Linked DNA regions of Homo sapiens: all the other regions are linked to region 3. Evidence: promoter capture Hi-C in human tissues and cell types (Jung and others, 2019). All regions are on one chromosome and are shown on one strand. Each heading gives the region's core, a stretch centred on a gene start or on the middle of the fragment in contact. The rest is flanking DNA. Distances are from core to core; before and after follow the strand shown. Region 1 has its middle 34 kb from the start of DTX1. Region 2 overlaps LINC01234 (long intergenic non-protein coding RNA 1234). Region 3 holds the start of SDSL (serine dehydratase like). Region 4 has its middle 50 kb from the start of LINC01234.

Region 1 (3,904 bases), core at 893-3,392, 400 kb before region 3:
CTTCTGGGACTTCATTTGTTTTTGTTTTTACGTTTTCATCTTTTATCAGAGATTTTCATGGTTTTGTCTAGAATTTTTTAGTGTAAGAAATCAAATGGAAATTCAGCTTTATTTTATTGTTAAGGCCAGTTACCTTAACATCTTACCACTTTCTCATAGGTGAGTAGTGCTTCCTTTATCATACACCCAATTCCCTTTGTATTGGGCATGTTTTTTAACCTTTTTTTTTTTCCACGGAGACTCATTCTGTCACCCACACCGGAGTGCAGTGGTGCAATCTTGGCTCACTGCAACCTCTGCCTCCCGGGCTCAAGCAATTCTCCTGTCTCAGCCTACCAAGTATCTGGGATTACAGGTGCCCACCACCACCCCCAGCTAATTTTGTATTTTTAGTAGAGACAGGGTTTCATCATGTTGGCCAGGCTGGTCTCGAACTCCTGACCTCAGGTGATCCACCTGCCTCGGCCTCCCAAAGTGCTGGAATTACAGGTGTGGGCCACCACACACAGCTCTGAACCTTCTTTTGTGTCACTCATACATGCACCACCCATTCCTGTACCAGGGTCTTCATGGAAGAAAACTCCAGCTAACTGAACTGTTATCCTGCTATGGAATGTGTCTTTCATACACACACACAGGGACTGACTCATGCTTCCTCTTTACCTGGAATATCTTTACCCCGTATCTTAGCAGACACACTCCCATATCTCAAGCATCATGGCAAACACCACCTCCTCTAAGTCTTTCTTAATCTTCTGAGTGATGTGCACTCTAGGGAAATCTAGCATCTTGGCTTTGGACATATTTCCAAAGCCTATTCCCATGACTATTTCCAAAGACTATGTTGGTCTGTAGGAAGAGAGTTTTGGATCTACCAATAAATCAACTGACATCTCAATGGTTATTGAAGGAGAGTCCATCAGTCTGCAGGTAACCCATGCTAAGATAGAGCTAGAATGAGAACAAGAACTGACAGTTGTATAACTTTGCTGGTTGCTAAAGTATTAAAGTATTGTATGATATGGTGTTTTGGTCCATTCTCACATTGCTATAAATAAATACTTGAGACTGGGCAGTTTATAAAGAAAAGATGCTTAATTGGCTCACAGTTCTGCAAGCTGTACAGGAAGCATGGCAACATCTGCTTCTGGGGAGGCCTCAGGAAGCTTCCAATTATGGTGGAAGGCAAAGGGTGAACAGACAAATCACATGGCGAAAGCAGGAGCAAGAGAATGAGGGCAGGAGGTGCTACACACTTTTAAAGAACCAGATCTCATGAGAACTCATGCACTATTGTGAGAACAGTACCAAGGGGAATGGTGCCAAACCATTCATGGGAAATCCACCTCCATGATCCAATCACTGCCCACCAGGCCCGACCTCCAACATTGGAGATTACATTTCAATGTGAGATTTGGGTGGGAACACACATCCAAACTATCTCATATGCCATGGTGCATTTGCTCTAGGTTTTAAGTTTCTTGAGAGTAGAAATGAAATACGTCTTTGTGGAAGCCAACGCAGCTCCATCTCAGACGCTAATCCACCATATGGGCTTCTGATTAACCCCAGTTCCAAGAAGTCCCCTAAAATTTCCAGTTTATCTATTGTTCCTTGTGGAAGAGCAGGTACTTGCTATAAATCTTGCTCCCAGGTCAAACCACCTTGATGTTTTCTACATCAATTGCCCTAAGCATCCCTTCTGAATCATCCTTTCCTTATGGTATATAAGTCCTGGGTCTGGGAGTAATAGTGAAACTGCCTTTGCAAAAATTCTAACACTGAGAAAATTATGACGGTGAAAGAGATCTGACCTAACCAACTCCATCTTGCCTTTAACCTCCAAGCTTCCCTTCTTCACTCCTGGGAATAGGCTGAACTAAATTTGGGGAGGAATTTAGTTTGGAGTTTAGCTTTAAAACAAAGGTGATAAGACTCCTTCCCCAAAAGAAACCCCCTCCTTGCTTAGAGCTCAAACCACCTCTGTAAAACCAACACATTAACCACAAGATTAGAAATTATAGCTCAGGAGTCACGCAGACAGAGGCCACAAGATTCCTAACCTCCCCAGTTGCTCCTGTGGGTAATGTTACTATTGTAAGACCTAGGACTGGTGTTAGAGATATTTTTCAGCCACTGAATTCTGATGGATCAGTTGGTCCCACCCAGACCAGTAAACTGGCTCATCTGGCCTTATGGCCCCCACCCAGGAACTGATGTGGTACAAGAAGACATCTTCAACTCCCTATGATTTCAGCCCCAAACCCACCAATCAACATTCCTCATTCCCTACCCTTCATCTTCCAAACTATCTTTTTTTTTTTTTTTTGGAGACAGAATCTCACTCTGTTGCCCAGGCTGGAGTGCAGTGGTGCAATCTCAGCTCACTGCAACCTCCGCCTCCCTAGTTCAAGCGATTCTCCTGCCTCAGCCTCCTGAGTAGCTGGGATTACAGGCACGTGCCACCACGCCTGGCTAATTTTTTTATTTTTATTTTTTAGTAGAGATGGGGTTTCACCATGTTGATCAGGCTGGTCTCGAACTCCTGACCTCATGATCCACCCACCTCGGCCTCCCAAAGTGCTGGGATTACAGGCATGAGCCACCGTGCCTGGCCTAAAACCCCTAGCCTCTGAATATTCAGGGAAGCTGATTTAAGTTAACAATAAAACTCCAGTCTCCCATTTAACTGCCTCTATGAGTATTAAACTCTTTATTGCAATTCCCCTGTCTTGATAAGTTGGCTCTATCTAGGCAGTGGGCAGCAAGAACCCACTGGGCAGTCATAATAGCGTGGGGATCCACCATCTGGTCTTCCCACTGCACAAGACACAGACATGGCTTCAGTTTGTAAGACCCTGTTAAGTATTTCTTCCTAAGAAACTTGATTTACCAGCCTCTTTCTTTGGCCTCTCAGCTTCTTCTAACTTTTGAGGGTAGGTTTGTATAGACCTGCCCACTGCAGAACGACCTTGTATTCATGTATTTAGTCACTGACATCCACGGAGATTGGTCAACAGAAGGAACTTGGAATATCCAGTAAACTATAATAATGCTATTTGCCTCCTGTCCCAAAGTGCTAACTGAGAAAAACAACGCCAGATATTTGACTAGGTTTGTTCATCCAAAACACGCCTAGCTGTGATGTGTTTCTTTGCGTGCAATGACCAAGTTGAGTCTTACAAGGTGAAATTTAATGGTGTCTATAATCCCCACTGTTCCAGCTATTCAGAAGTCCCTCTCTGTTTGATGCTTAATAATAATACCGCAAGCAGTTACCATTTCCCAAACTGTCTGTGTGTACCGGACCCCTAGGAGACATTAGTTCCTTTAGTCCTCACAACAGCTCCCTGAGTTTCATACCCCCAGAGCAGAGCTCATAGAGGCCACGGGCATAGACTCTGAAGCAGGGCTGTCCAACAGGACTTTCTGCAATGATGAGAATGTTCCAGATCTACAGTGTCCAACTCCGTACCCAACAGCCACATTGGCTACTGAGCACATGAGATGCATGCCTGAGAAAATGAATTTTAAATTGTATTTAATTTTAATTAATTTAAACTTAAATGGCCTCCAAATCTAAATCCCAGCTCTGTCACTTACTGAGTGGGCTTGGGCAAAGTACTGCACCTCACTAGCCTGGCTTTCCTTTCTGTTAAATGTTATGAACTGAATTGTGTCCCCTCCCCGCAAATTCATATGTAAAAGCCCTAACCCCCAGTACTTTTTTTTTTTTTTGAGACAAAGTCTTGCTCTGTCGCCCAGGTTGGAGTGCAGTGGCACGATCTCAGCTCACAGCAACCTCCTGGGTTCACACAATTCTCCTGCCTCAGCCTCCAAAGCAGCTGGGACTACAGGCATGCACCACCAGGCCCGGTTAATTTTTGTATTTTCAGGAGAGACA
Region 2 (3,496 bases), core at 565-3,064, 320 kb after region 3:
ACTTTTAGTGGATGCTTAAAACCATGGATAGTAATACACAGATGGTCCCCAACATATGATGGTTAGACTTATAATTTTCTGACTTTACAATGGTGTGAGAGTGATATGCATTCAGCAGAAAACATACTTACAGTACCCATACAACCATTCAATTTTTTACTTTAAGTACAGTATTCAATATATAAGAAGAAGCTGGGCACAGTGGTTCACGCCTGTAATCCCAGCACTTTGGGAGGCCAAGGTGGGAGGATCACTTGAGGCCAGGAGTTCAAGACCACCCTGGGAAACAGTACCTCGTCTCTACAAAAATAAAAATTAAAAGATTAGCCAGGTGTGGTGGCACGCACTTGTATCCTAGCTACTCAGGAGGCTGAGGTGGGAGGATGGCCTGAGCCCAGGAGTTCAGGGTTGCAGTGAGCTATGATCATGCCACTGCACTCCAGCCTGAGTAACAGAGCAGCCTGTTACTCAGAAAAAAAAAAATTAAAATTAAGAGATGAGATATTCAGTGCTTTGTTAGAAAATAGGTTTTGTGTTAGACGATTTTTTTTCAACTGTAGGCTAGTGTAAGTGTTTTGAGGATGTTTAAGGTATGCTAGGCTAAGCTCTGATGTTTGGTAGGTTAGAGGTATTAAATGCATTTTCAACTTAAAGATCTTTTCAACTGAACGAAGGGTTTATCAGGACATAACCCTATTGTGAGTTGAGGAGCATCCGTACTGTTTTTTCCTATACACACATGCCTGTGGTAAAGCTTAATTTATAAATTAGGCACAATAAGAGACTAACAACAATAACGAATAAAATACAACAATTGTAACAATATACTGCGATAAAAGATACGTGAATGCGGCCTCTCACTTTCTCAGAATATCTTAGCGTACTGTATTGTACCATGGGTAAAGGGGACTACTGAACATGCTAGCTATTGGTTTTACTTTCCTCGATGCTGCAGTTCTTTGGGAGCTTGAGGTTTCACCTGCAAAATGGGGATAATAGCAGTTTATCTACCTAATAGGTGAGGATTAAAAGAGATAATGTAGGGAGATAATGTATATTCAGGGCAACTTGAATCTATGTTCCTGGGCAAAAACATTATTTTTAATAAGACAGATAATGTATGCAAAATGCCGTCTTAGTCCATTTTCTGCCGCTATAACAGAATACCACAGACTGGGTAATTTATAAGGAAAAGACATGTATTTCTCAGTTCTGGAGGCCGGAAGTCCAATAGCAAGGTGCCAGCATCTGGTGAGGGGCTTCTTGCTGTGTTATCCCATGGTGAAAGGAGGAAGCACAAGCTAACATGAGAGACAGACAGCAAGAGAAAAGGGGGGTCCACTACTGCGATAAGGGTATTAATCCATTCACGAGGGCAGAGTTCTCATGACCTGATCATCTCTTAAAGTTCTCACCTTGCAACACTGTTGCAATGGCAATTAAATTTTAGCATGAGCTTTGGAGGGGACATTCAAACCACAGCAAATGCTTATCTCAGGTGTGGTGCTTAGCAGGCACACAATATACTCGTAGTGATGATTATCTGTTCACGCAAGCTTGTGTTGGAATAATTAAGGTATTTGACTTCTCCGTCCTCCAGAGGAGGTTCATAGTGACATACATGGTAACAAATATGTATCATAGGTGCTGTAACTACATAAAACAAAGGCACATGGGTCTGGGCAGCTAGGATAGATAATTCCAGCCTCATCTACATCTACTCTTCACGCAGAGGAGACATCCTGGCACCTCCATGCCTTTGTGCTGGTAGGATTTTCCTCGCTGTATTCATTTCCTAGGGCTGTCATGACGGAATGTTACACACTAGGTACCTTAAAATAACAGATGTTTATCATTTCACTGTTCTGAAGGCCACAAGTCCAAAATCAAGGTGTTGGCAGAGTTGATTCCTTCTGGAGGCTCTAGTAGAGAATCAGTTCTCTGCTGTCTCTCTTTTCAATTTCTTTTCTCATTTCTCTTATTTCTATATGCATTAAGACTCAATCTGGCTTAATGCCAAAGGGTATTTATGAACTCAAGTAACTGCAAAGTCCAGGAGATCGTGGTGGCTTCAGGTGCAGCTGGACCCAGGGGCTCAAATGATATTTTCAGGCATCTGCTCTCCCACCATCTCTTGGCTCTGCTCTTCCCTTATTGGCTTTATTATCAGGCAGGCTCTTCTATCACGGATGCACATATTATCAGTAGCCCAGCAGAAAGAGAGTGCCCCTTTCAGAATAGTTCCAGGCAAAGCCCTGCATGTCACTCCCTTGGTCTGGCTTGAGTCACAGGTCCAGAGTTGAACCAATCACTGTGCATTTGGTTGTCCAGGCTTGAGACCTTCACTCATTTATAACTGGGGGAAGGAGGTAGTGCCTTCAAAGGGAAATGGTTTGAAGTTTCTATACAAAGGGGGAAGGTATGATGAGCTTGCCAAAATACTGACTATTCTCCCCACTCTCCTTCCTTTCCTCTGATTCCACCTCAAATGCTGAGCTGGACTCATGATGTGTGCAGAGACCCTGAGTCCTGGGTGTTCTCCAAGAGCACATGCTAAGTGGTGGGTGGGGTGAGAAGAGACAAGCGTTTGAAAGGTGAGATGTCAGGGCAGAAGAAGACCACTCAGCACCAAGAGTTTCTTTTCAGGGAATAAAAATGTTGAGACTTGAGGCCATCATGTCCACTGCCTTAGTAGTATAAATGGAGAAACTGAGACCGAGGAGGTGAAGGGACTTGCTTGGGGTACCCTGTGAGTCAGTGGCAGAGCAAGAAGCAAAACATTCATCTCAGATTCCTGGGCTGGTCTTCATTCCCCCACACACTTGCATGGTCAGATGGGTGGTTGTTTTGTGGGATGTAGCTACCTGCTTGCAGGAGACTCTGGAGATGGTGCCCAAGAAGAGATGCCATTTTGGATGGACACTGAAGGATGAGTAAGCTTTTGCCAGGGTAGAAGGAATGGAACCCATACATCCAAATCCATACATCCTTCCATTCTCCCTCCTTCTCTTCCTTCCTTTCTCTCCCTCTCTCTTTCATTTGATTCTCCCTCCAGCCCTCCCTCTGGTGTGACTTCGGAGGGAGTGATCCTGGCTAGCACCTGGGAAGAGAGGGAAGAATTTGTTACAGCATCCAGGACTGAACCCATGAGAGCCTGAAATGGAGGGGTAGTGGTGAGACCAGAAGTCATAGCGTTCAAAAGCTTCCCAAGAAATGCAGGTGTCCAAGCATGGAGGGTGCAGCTTCCCATGAACAAAAACAAAACAAAACAACAGCCTCAAAACCAGGAACTGTACCTCCCTTGCCCAGAGTGGCCACTAAAAAAATTAATTTTATTGTGGTAATCATTTTGCAGTGTATTCATATGTCGAATAATCACATTGGACATCTTGAATATATGCCATTTTAACTTTTCAATTATACCTCAATAAAACTGGAAAATAAGTAAATAAAATAATGAAAGACAAAAATTCCAATTCACCAGTGAGTTCAGGCG
Region 3 (3,768 bases), core at 587-3,086:
CACTAAATGCAGCTAGTCTGCTTCTTGTCAAAGTCTGAGCTGTGTGCTGAGTCTCTGCCTACTTCAAGAAGCCCTCCCTGATCTTGCCCCATCCCCAGCTACCCTATGGGGACTTTCTGCCCTCTGTCATCTTAGGAAGTGTTATTGTTGCTACCGAATTGGGTGTCTTCCTCTCCCCTCCATGCTGGGGGCCACTTCAAGGCACAAACTGGATTTTATCACCTCTGTGTCCCCAGTACCCAGTCCAGGACAAGGCACCCAACAAGGATGGATGTGTGTCTAAAGCGAGGATGGGTAGAAACTTGCCAGAGTCCACATTAAGGATCACGGCCAAGCAGCTCCATCTAACCCCAAGTGGCTGGGAGTTAATCATCAAACCTGGGGAGATCAGAAACAGCCCAAGAAGGACACACAACATCTGTGATGCCAGGTCTTCCTGTTCCCACTTTCCACATAGGGAAACTGAGGCCCAGAGATGGGCACGAGCTGCTCAGGTTCACCCAGTGAGATGGTGCAGAGACAAGACATGAATTTGACCATGTCATTCCCCCCACCTAAAGCCTTCTGTGGCTCCCTAGTGCCCCTGGGTAAGGTCCAAACTCTGGATTGGTACAGGCATCCCTGTGGACTCTGATCTCTGCCCACATCTCCAGCCTCAACCCCACTTGCTTCCCCACCCCTGCCTTCTCCCTCCCAGCCCCACTGGATACTACCCTGACCCTGGAATATATCATGTTTTTCATTTCCAGACCTTTGCACTCCCTGTGCCTGACTCCTGGCTCCACTCAGACTTCCCCTCCTCCAGGAAGCCTCCCCAGCCCCCCAGGGCCAGGCGGGGTGCCTGCTCTGGGTTCCACAGCCCTGCCCCACCCTGCCAGCTGCTAACATCTGATAGCACTAATAAGTGCTCTCTAATGGCCCTCTCTAAGGGCTTTGTGAAGGCAGAGGACATGCTATTTTGTTTGAGGCCAAAGTTCCAGGGATTGGCACATAGTAGGTGTCCAATAAACATTTAATGAATGAATGAATGGTCAGTCATTCATCTGAGTAGCAAATAATTGCTTGGGTTCTCATGCTGCGTGTAAAATATCCGAGACGGAGAGGTGCTTCAGACAAAAATATACCTTTCCCATGTCACAAATAATAATTATAATAATTGTTTCCTTGGCCAGGTGCAGTGGCTCACGCCTGTAATCCCAGCACTTTGGGAGGCAGAGGCAAGCAGATCACCTGAGGACAGGAGTTCGAGACTGGCCTGGCCAACATGGTCAAACCCTGTCCCTACTAAAAATACAAAAATTAGCTGGCGTGGTGGTGGGTGCCTGTAAACCTGGCTACTTGGGAGGCTGAAGTGGGAGAATCGCTTGAATCCAGGAGGCGGAGGTAACAGTGAGCCGAGATCGCACCATTGCACTCCAGCCTGGGGGACAAGAATGAAACTGTGTCTCAAAAAAAAAAAGTTCCCTTGTCCTTGTTTTCCCATCCCAGACCTAAGCTGACCCCAACAGTGGTTCAGCATCCGGGACAATCACTAGACCTAAAATGAGAAGACATGGAGATGCCTGCATCCCGGAAGAGATGGCCCAGGGCCAGGGGTAAAGGCTGTCTCTGCCCCTTGCTGTCTGGGAAGCTTTGGCCAAATAAGTTCCCTTTTCTGAGTTTCAGTTTGCTCATCTGTCAAATGAGACAGGGTGGTGCATGAGTCATAGGCAGTGCCCGGGAAAGCGGTGAGGGTTGCTCTCATCCCCTCTCCTCCTCCGTCTTCACCCGGAGGCTTAGGGTCTGGAGCTTTCTCTTTAACAAAGGAGGAGGGACCAAGGTTGCCGGAAGCTGCCTGAAGCTGGACAGAGCCGGTTCCTGGAAAGAGCTGGTTCCCTGGCAGGCTGGAGGGCAGGAGCTGGGGCCACGCTGGTCTGGGATAGTTGGGCAGGGAGGTAAGGGGTCTGGGGCCAGCTGGGGCCCCTGGGGCTCAGTGTGTGTGTGAATGAGAGGCTGATGAGAGGCTGCAGGAGTTTGGGAGGCTTTGGGCAAAGTCCAAGCTGAGCAGGTGGGAGTGAGAGGGCCTGAGCGTGTTCTAGGCCCTCCTGGGAATGTCGATTGAATTCAGGGTGCCCTGCAGAAGAAAGTGTTGTGCTGGGGACCCTGAAGGGCGAGAGTGGGTTCTGCCTGCCAGAGGGGCAGGGTTGGGCATTCTGCCAGCCAAGGGGCCAGCCCGAGGTGTCCCAGCCCTGGCACCAGGGATTTGGCTGTGGAGTGCCACCAAGGTGGCCTCTGGGGAAAGGCTTTGGGGACAAGTGAGGTGGACAGCACTGGTGGTCCTTACCTCAACTCATAGATGTGACAGGTAAGGCCCAGTGACAAAAGTGACTTGGCCAAGGTTGGCATGACTGGGACCTGAGCCTGAGCCCCCTGCTTTCCCCTGGGTTATTCCACAGCAGGGAGACCCAGGTCCCCCATTTCAGCCCTGGTGGCTGCCATACGGGACAAGAGGTGTGTGTCCCTGGGCCAAGACAGCTCAGTCCCAGACCTCAGGTGCCTGATGGGGTCTGGGGTTGATAAGGCTGTTGGCAACTTGGGGCTTTTTCATTTAACTGATGCCTGCTGTCCTCTTGTGAGTCAGTATAACCAAGAGGGCTGGGGAAGCCTGGAAACTGAGCCAGGAGCATTTGGTTCCAAAGGACAATTGGCAATAAATATTAAATGCATGCAGCTTTCATAATAGTAACGATAACACTAGTATATTAGAGAAAGTATAGCATCGCGGTTAATAGCACAGATGCCAAAGACACTGCCTGGTGTGAATTCTGGCTATGCTGTTTCTAACTGTGTGAACTTGGATAAGTTACTTAATCTCTCTGGACCTCAGGTTCACTGTTTATAAAATGGAGTCAATGGTGAGTTAATGACTCATCTGTTGTGAGCCAACAGGTGGCTCACACCTGTTATCCTAGTGTTTTGAGAGGCAGAGACAAGAGATTTACCTGAGGCCAGGAGTTCAAGACCAGCCTGGACAACTCAGCAAAACTGCATCTCTATAAAAATTAAAATATCAGCCGGATACAGTGGTGCATGTCTACAGTTCCAGCTACTCAGGAAGCTGAGGTGGGAGGATTGCTTGAGCCCGGGACTTCAAGGTTACAGTGAGCCATGATCGTGCCACTGCACTCCAGCCCAGGCAACAGAGTGAGACCTTGTCTCTAAAACAAACACCAAAAAAACAAGAAAGCGGAAGGATTATGGAGTAGGGGGAGTTCATCCTGACAATCCCAGGATCCCCAGGGGAAAAATCTGGGGATTTCACCAAAAAGGAAGAGAGACCCAATTCCAAGTGGACAGACACCCAACATGGGTGCCCTTACCATGCAGGCTCATTGAATCCTCACAATAGTCCTGCCATGTACACGCTCTTCTTGCAGTTTGTTGTGTGGTTGGTTGGTTCTCATTTTTCGGGTCTAATTTTTAATTTTTTATTATTTTTTTTGAGACAGAGTTTCCCTCTTACTCTCTAGGCTGGAGTGCAATGGCGCGATCTCGGCTCACTGCAACCTCGCCTCACCGCAACCTCGCCTCTCAGGTTCAAGCAATTCTCCTGCCTCAGCCTCCCGAGTAGCTGGGATTACAGGCATGCGCCACCATGCCCGGCTAATTTTGTATTTTTAGTAGAGACGGGGTTTCTCCATGTTGGCCAGACTGGTCTTGAACTCTTGACCTCAGGTGATCCGCCTGCCTCTGCCTCACAAAGTGCTGGGATTACAGGCATGAGCCACC
Region 4 (3,473 bases), core at 971-3,470, 300 kb after region 3:
TTCCCTTTTGCAAATGAGAAAACTGAGGCTCTAGGAGAACTGATTTGCCAAAGGCCACTCAGCCCACAAGTGGCATTGCCAGGGCACCTGCCTGACTCCAGCGCCCTAAGTAAGATCCTGAACGTCAAGTGCGGTCTTGTCCAGGGATGTGAGGACTGCGGAATAGGTTCCCCCTGAGAACAAGGAGACGTGGGCTGCAACTGCAGTGTGTGGATTTAGGTTAACTTCAAGAAGGACTTCCTGACAATCTCATGGGCCCAGAGGAGTTTCAGATGTGTCCCTGAAAGCAGGGTCAGCCTGTTCTTTCTGGCTCTGCCAAAGGCAGGGAGGTGGCCCCATGGCCTCTGGAGGCTGTTCCAGCCTGGGCTGGGCTTTGCAGTCTCCTGTTTCTCCCTTTCTCCCCGATAGGTGCATTGGGGTCTGCCTGGCTTTCTCTCTGGGTGGGGGCTTTCCTCCCAGCCCCAGGCTCCAGGGGCCTCTCACCCCCATTACCCTCCCCCAAGGCCACCCTTCTCTCTGTGCCCACCCAAGCCAGCAAGGTTGAATTCCTTCCCTATGCCCCTCTCTCCTCCTTTTCTCAGGACACTGCCCACTCAGCTCCCCCTCTCAGAACATTCCTGATGTCCAGGGTGTGGCCTGGCTCAAAGAAGGTGTTCCAAAAAAAAAAAAAAAAAAAGCTGGAGTGCAGTGGTGCGATCTCGGCTCACTGCAACCTCCACCTCCCAGGATCAAGTGATTCTCCTGCCTCAGCTTCCCGAGTAGCTGGAACTACAGGCATGCACCACCACACCTGGCTAATTTTTATATTTTAAGTAGAGATGGGGTTTTGCCATGTTAGCCAGGCTGGTCTTGAATTCCTGACCTCAGGTGATCCGCCCAACGCAGCCTCCCAAAGTGCTGGGATTACAGGCATGAGCCACCACACCCAGCCAGCTGAATATTATTAATATGGGGCCGGGGGCAGTGGCTCATGCCTGTGGTCCCAGCTGAGGCAGGAGGTTTGCTCAAGCCGAGGAATTCGAGGCTTCAGTGAGCTATGATTACACCAGCGCACTCCAGCGCACTTAGTGGTCCCAGCTATTTGGCAAGCTGAGGCAGGAGGATCACTTGAGCTTCAGAAGTTCAAGACTACAGTGAGCTATGATTGCATCACTGTGCTCCAGCCTGGGTGACAGAGCAAGACCCTAAAAAAAAAAAAAAAATCAGCAATGACTTGAGGTGAGGGTCACTATGTCAGGCTAATTTTTTAAATGTTTTCATAGAAATGGGTCTCCCTCTGTTGCCCAGTCTGATCTCAAACTCCTGGCCTCAAATGATCCTCCTACCTTGGGCTCCCAAAGCTTGGGATTACAGGCATAAGCCACTGCCCATGGCCAGTTTGTTTGTTTGTTTGTTTTTAAATTAAGTTAAGGCCAGGCACAGTGGCTCATGCCTATAATCTCAGTGCTTTTAGAGGCTGAGGCATGAGGATCACTTGAGCCCAGGAGGTGGAGTCTGCAGTGAGCTATGATTGCACCATTGCACTCCAGCCCGGGTGACAGAGTGAGACCCTGTCTCTAAGAAAAAAAAAATGAGATCAGCCTTGGAGGGTCCTTTAGATATTCATTCATTCATTTATTCCTCCAATCACTATTGCCCGAGCATCTACTGTGGGCCAGCCAATGTTCTAGGTGCTGGGGACCCTGTGATGAACAAACCCGACAAACACTCTGCCCTTAAGAAGCTCACCTTCTCATGGGTGAAAGGCTGAGAGCAAACAAACAATAAGTAGATACTATACTATTTCAGAAGGTAGTGGGCAGGGGGTGGTTACAGCAGGACAGGGGTCAGGGAGTACCAGGGGAAGGTTGGGTGCATTTTTAGGTAAGGTGGCCAGGGTAGCCTCATAGAGAGAACATGTTTTTAGCAACGACTTGAAAAGGGTGAGGAAGTTTGCTATGGGGATATAACAGGGAAAGAAATGCAGGCAGAAGCAAACAGCCAGTGCAAAGGCCCTGCGGTGGGCAGCCAGGGGCTGGGGTAGAGGGAGGGAGGAGTGCGCAGCAGGGGTTGGGGTGGCCAGAGGGGCTGGCAGCAGATCATGTAGGCCTTGTCTGACATGGAGAAGACTTCGGCTGTTTCTCTGAGGGAGATGGGAGCCATGGGAGGATATTGAGCACAGGAGGCACTGATTTATTTGTCTAACAGGATTCCTCTGGGGGTTGTGGGGAGGTGGACTGTAGGGGGCCAGGGTGGTGACAGAGACCAGAGAGGAGCTACTGCAGTAGTCCGAGCGGGAGATGATGGTGGCTTGCACCACACGGTGGCATGGTGGAGTGGATGGAATTGGATCTGTTCTGAATTTTTCACTCCCTCACTCATTCATTCATTCCATTATCCATCCAACCCATAATTTTTTTTTTTTTTTTTTTGAGACAGGGTCTCACTCTCTCACCCAGGCTGGAGTGCAGTGGCACAATCTCGGCTCACTGCAACCTCTGCCTCCCCACCCTCCCCGCTCAGCCTCCCGAGTAGTTGGGACTACAGGCATGCACCACCACACCTGGCTATTTTTTTTTTATTTTTAGTAGAGATGGGGTTTTGCCATGTTGCCCAGGCAGGCCTGAAACTATCCACCCTCCTAAGCCTCCCAAAGTGCTGGGATGACAGGTGTGAGCCATGGCACTTGGTCCAACCCATAAATATCTATTGGGACCCTCCTATGTGGCAGACAGGAGGGGTACAAAAAACAGTATGCAAAAGAGACCTAGACCCTGCCCAAATAGAGCTGAGGTTTAGTGGAGAGACAGATACTCATCCAATAAGCATGAAATCAACATATCGTTACACACTGCAATAAGTGTCAGGAAGGGGAGGGCCAGGGGGCTACCAGAAGACTGTCACAGCCACAGGCCCCAGCCCAGGGACCTTCTAGCTCAAGCCCCTCATCACGCATGTGGAGAAACCGAGGCACACAGAGGGAGCATGACTGGCTCAAGGTCACACAGCAGGTCCTTGGCAGAGCTAGAGAAAGAACTCCGCCCCCTGCCTCCCAGCAGGTGGCTGTCAGCACCATCACCGCTTCCAGAGCTCAGGCCTCCCCCGCCCCCACCGCAGCCACCCGTGGTTTATGGCCCCCGGAAGCCCCTCCGAAGTGTCTCATCAGCGAGGCCCCGGGCCACGGGAGATGGGCTCGTCCCAGCTCGGGCCAGGCAGCCGCCGATCGATTGCGCGTGTGCCGCCCCGATACTCCATCTCATTAGGCCTTCGTTTTCATCTCCCGGCTTCCTGGCAGCCTTCAAATTATCCCATAAAATTTATTTACTATTTCATGAATACATAAGCAGCAGGCAGGCACAAGCTTTTTATATATTTACACTGTATATATTTCACGGGAGACTTATAGCTGTCTCTAAGGCAGAGCGGGGAGAGGGAGAGAGACTGAGCAGACGGAGCCGGCAGCTGGTGGCAGAGGGAGGAGACAGGAGGGAGGC

Evidence for each region. The method cuts DNA at HindIII sites, captures the fragments that hold promoters and counts their contacts. A contact is called where the count stands out against the background at its distance.
Region 1: a contact is called between a fragment that was not itself captured here and the fragment with the promoter of SDSL in region 3, in 1 of the 25 tissues and cell types used here (IMR-90 fibroblasts).
Region 2: a fragment that was not itself captured here is called in contact with the fragment with the promoter of SDSL in region 3 in 4 of the 25 tissues and cell types used here (H1 embryonic stem cells, bladder, mesendoderm cells and 1 more).
Region 4: a fragment that was not itself captured here is called in contact with the fragment with the promoter of SDSL in region 3 in 1 of the 25 tissues and cell types used here (H1 embryonic stem cells).

The regions. Positions count from the first base shown.
Region 1 is chr12:113,021,029-113,024,932 of GRCh38, forward strand. No RefSeq gene overlaps it. Among named protein-coding and RNA genes, the nearest start is that of DTX1, 34 kb to the right of the region's middle. The HindIII fragment of the contact is 4,003 bases long and covers 142-3,904 here.
Region 2 is chr12:113,743,496-113,746,991 of GRCh38, forward strand. It overlaps LINC01234 (long intergenic non-protein coding RNA 1234), which reads right to left. Exons shown (of 3, transcript NR_110026.1): 3 at 1,082-3,100. Among named protein-coding and RNA genes, the nearest start is that of LINC01234, 28 kb to the right of the region's middle. The HindIII fragment of the contact is 3,092 bases long and covers 269-3,360 here.
Region 3 is chr12:113,420,544-113,424,311 of GRCh38, forward strand. SDSL (serine dehydratase like) reads left to right here and starts at 1,837. Exons shown (of 8, transcript NM_001304993.2): 1 at 1,837-1,934. The HindIII fragment of the contact is 24,154 bases long and covers 1-3,768 here.
Region 4 is chr12:113,721,812-113,725,284 of GRCh38, forward strand. No RefSeq gene overlaps it. Among named protein-coding and RNA genes, the nearest start is that of LINC01234, 50 kb to the right of the region's middle. The HindIII fragment of the contact is 5,093 bases long and covers 1-3,473 here.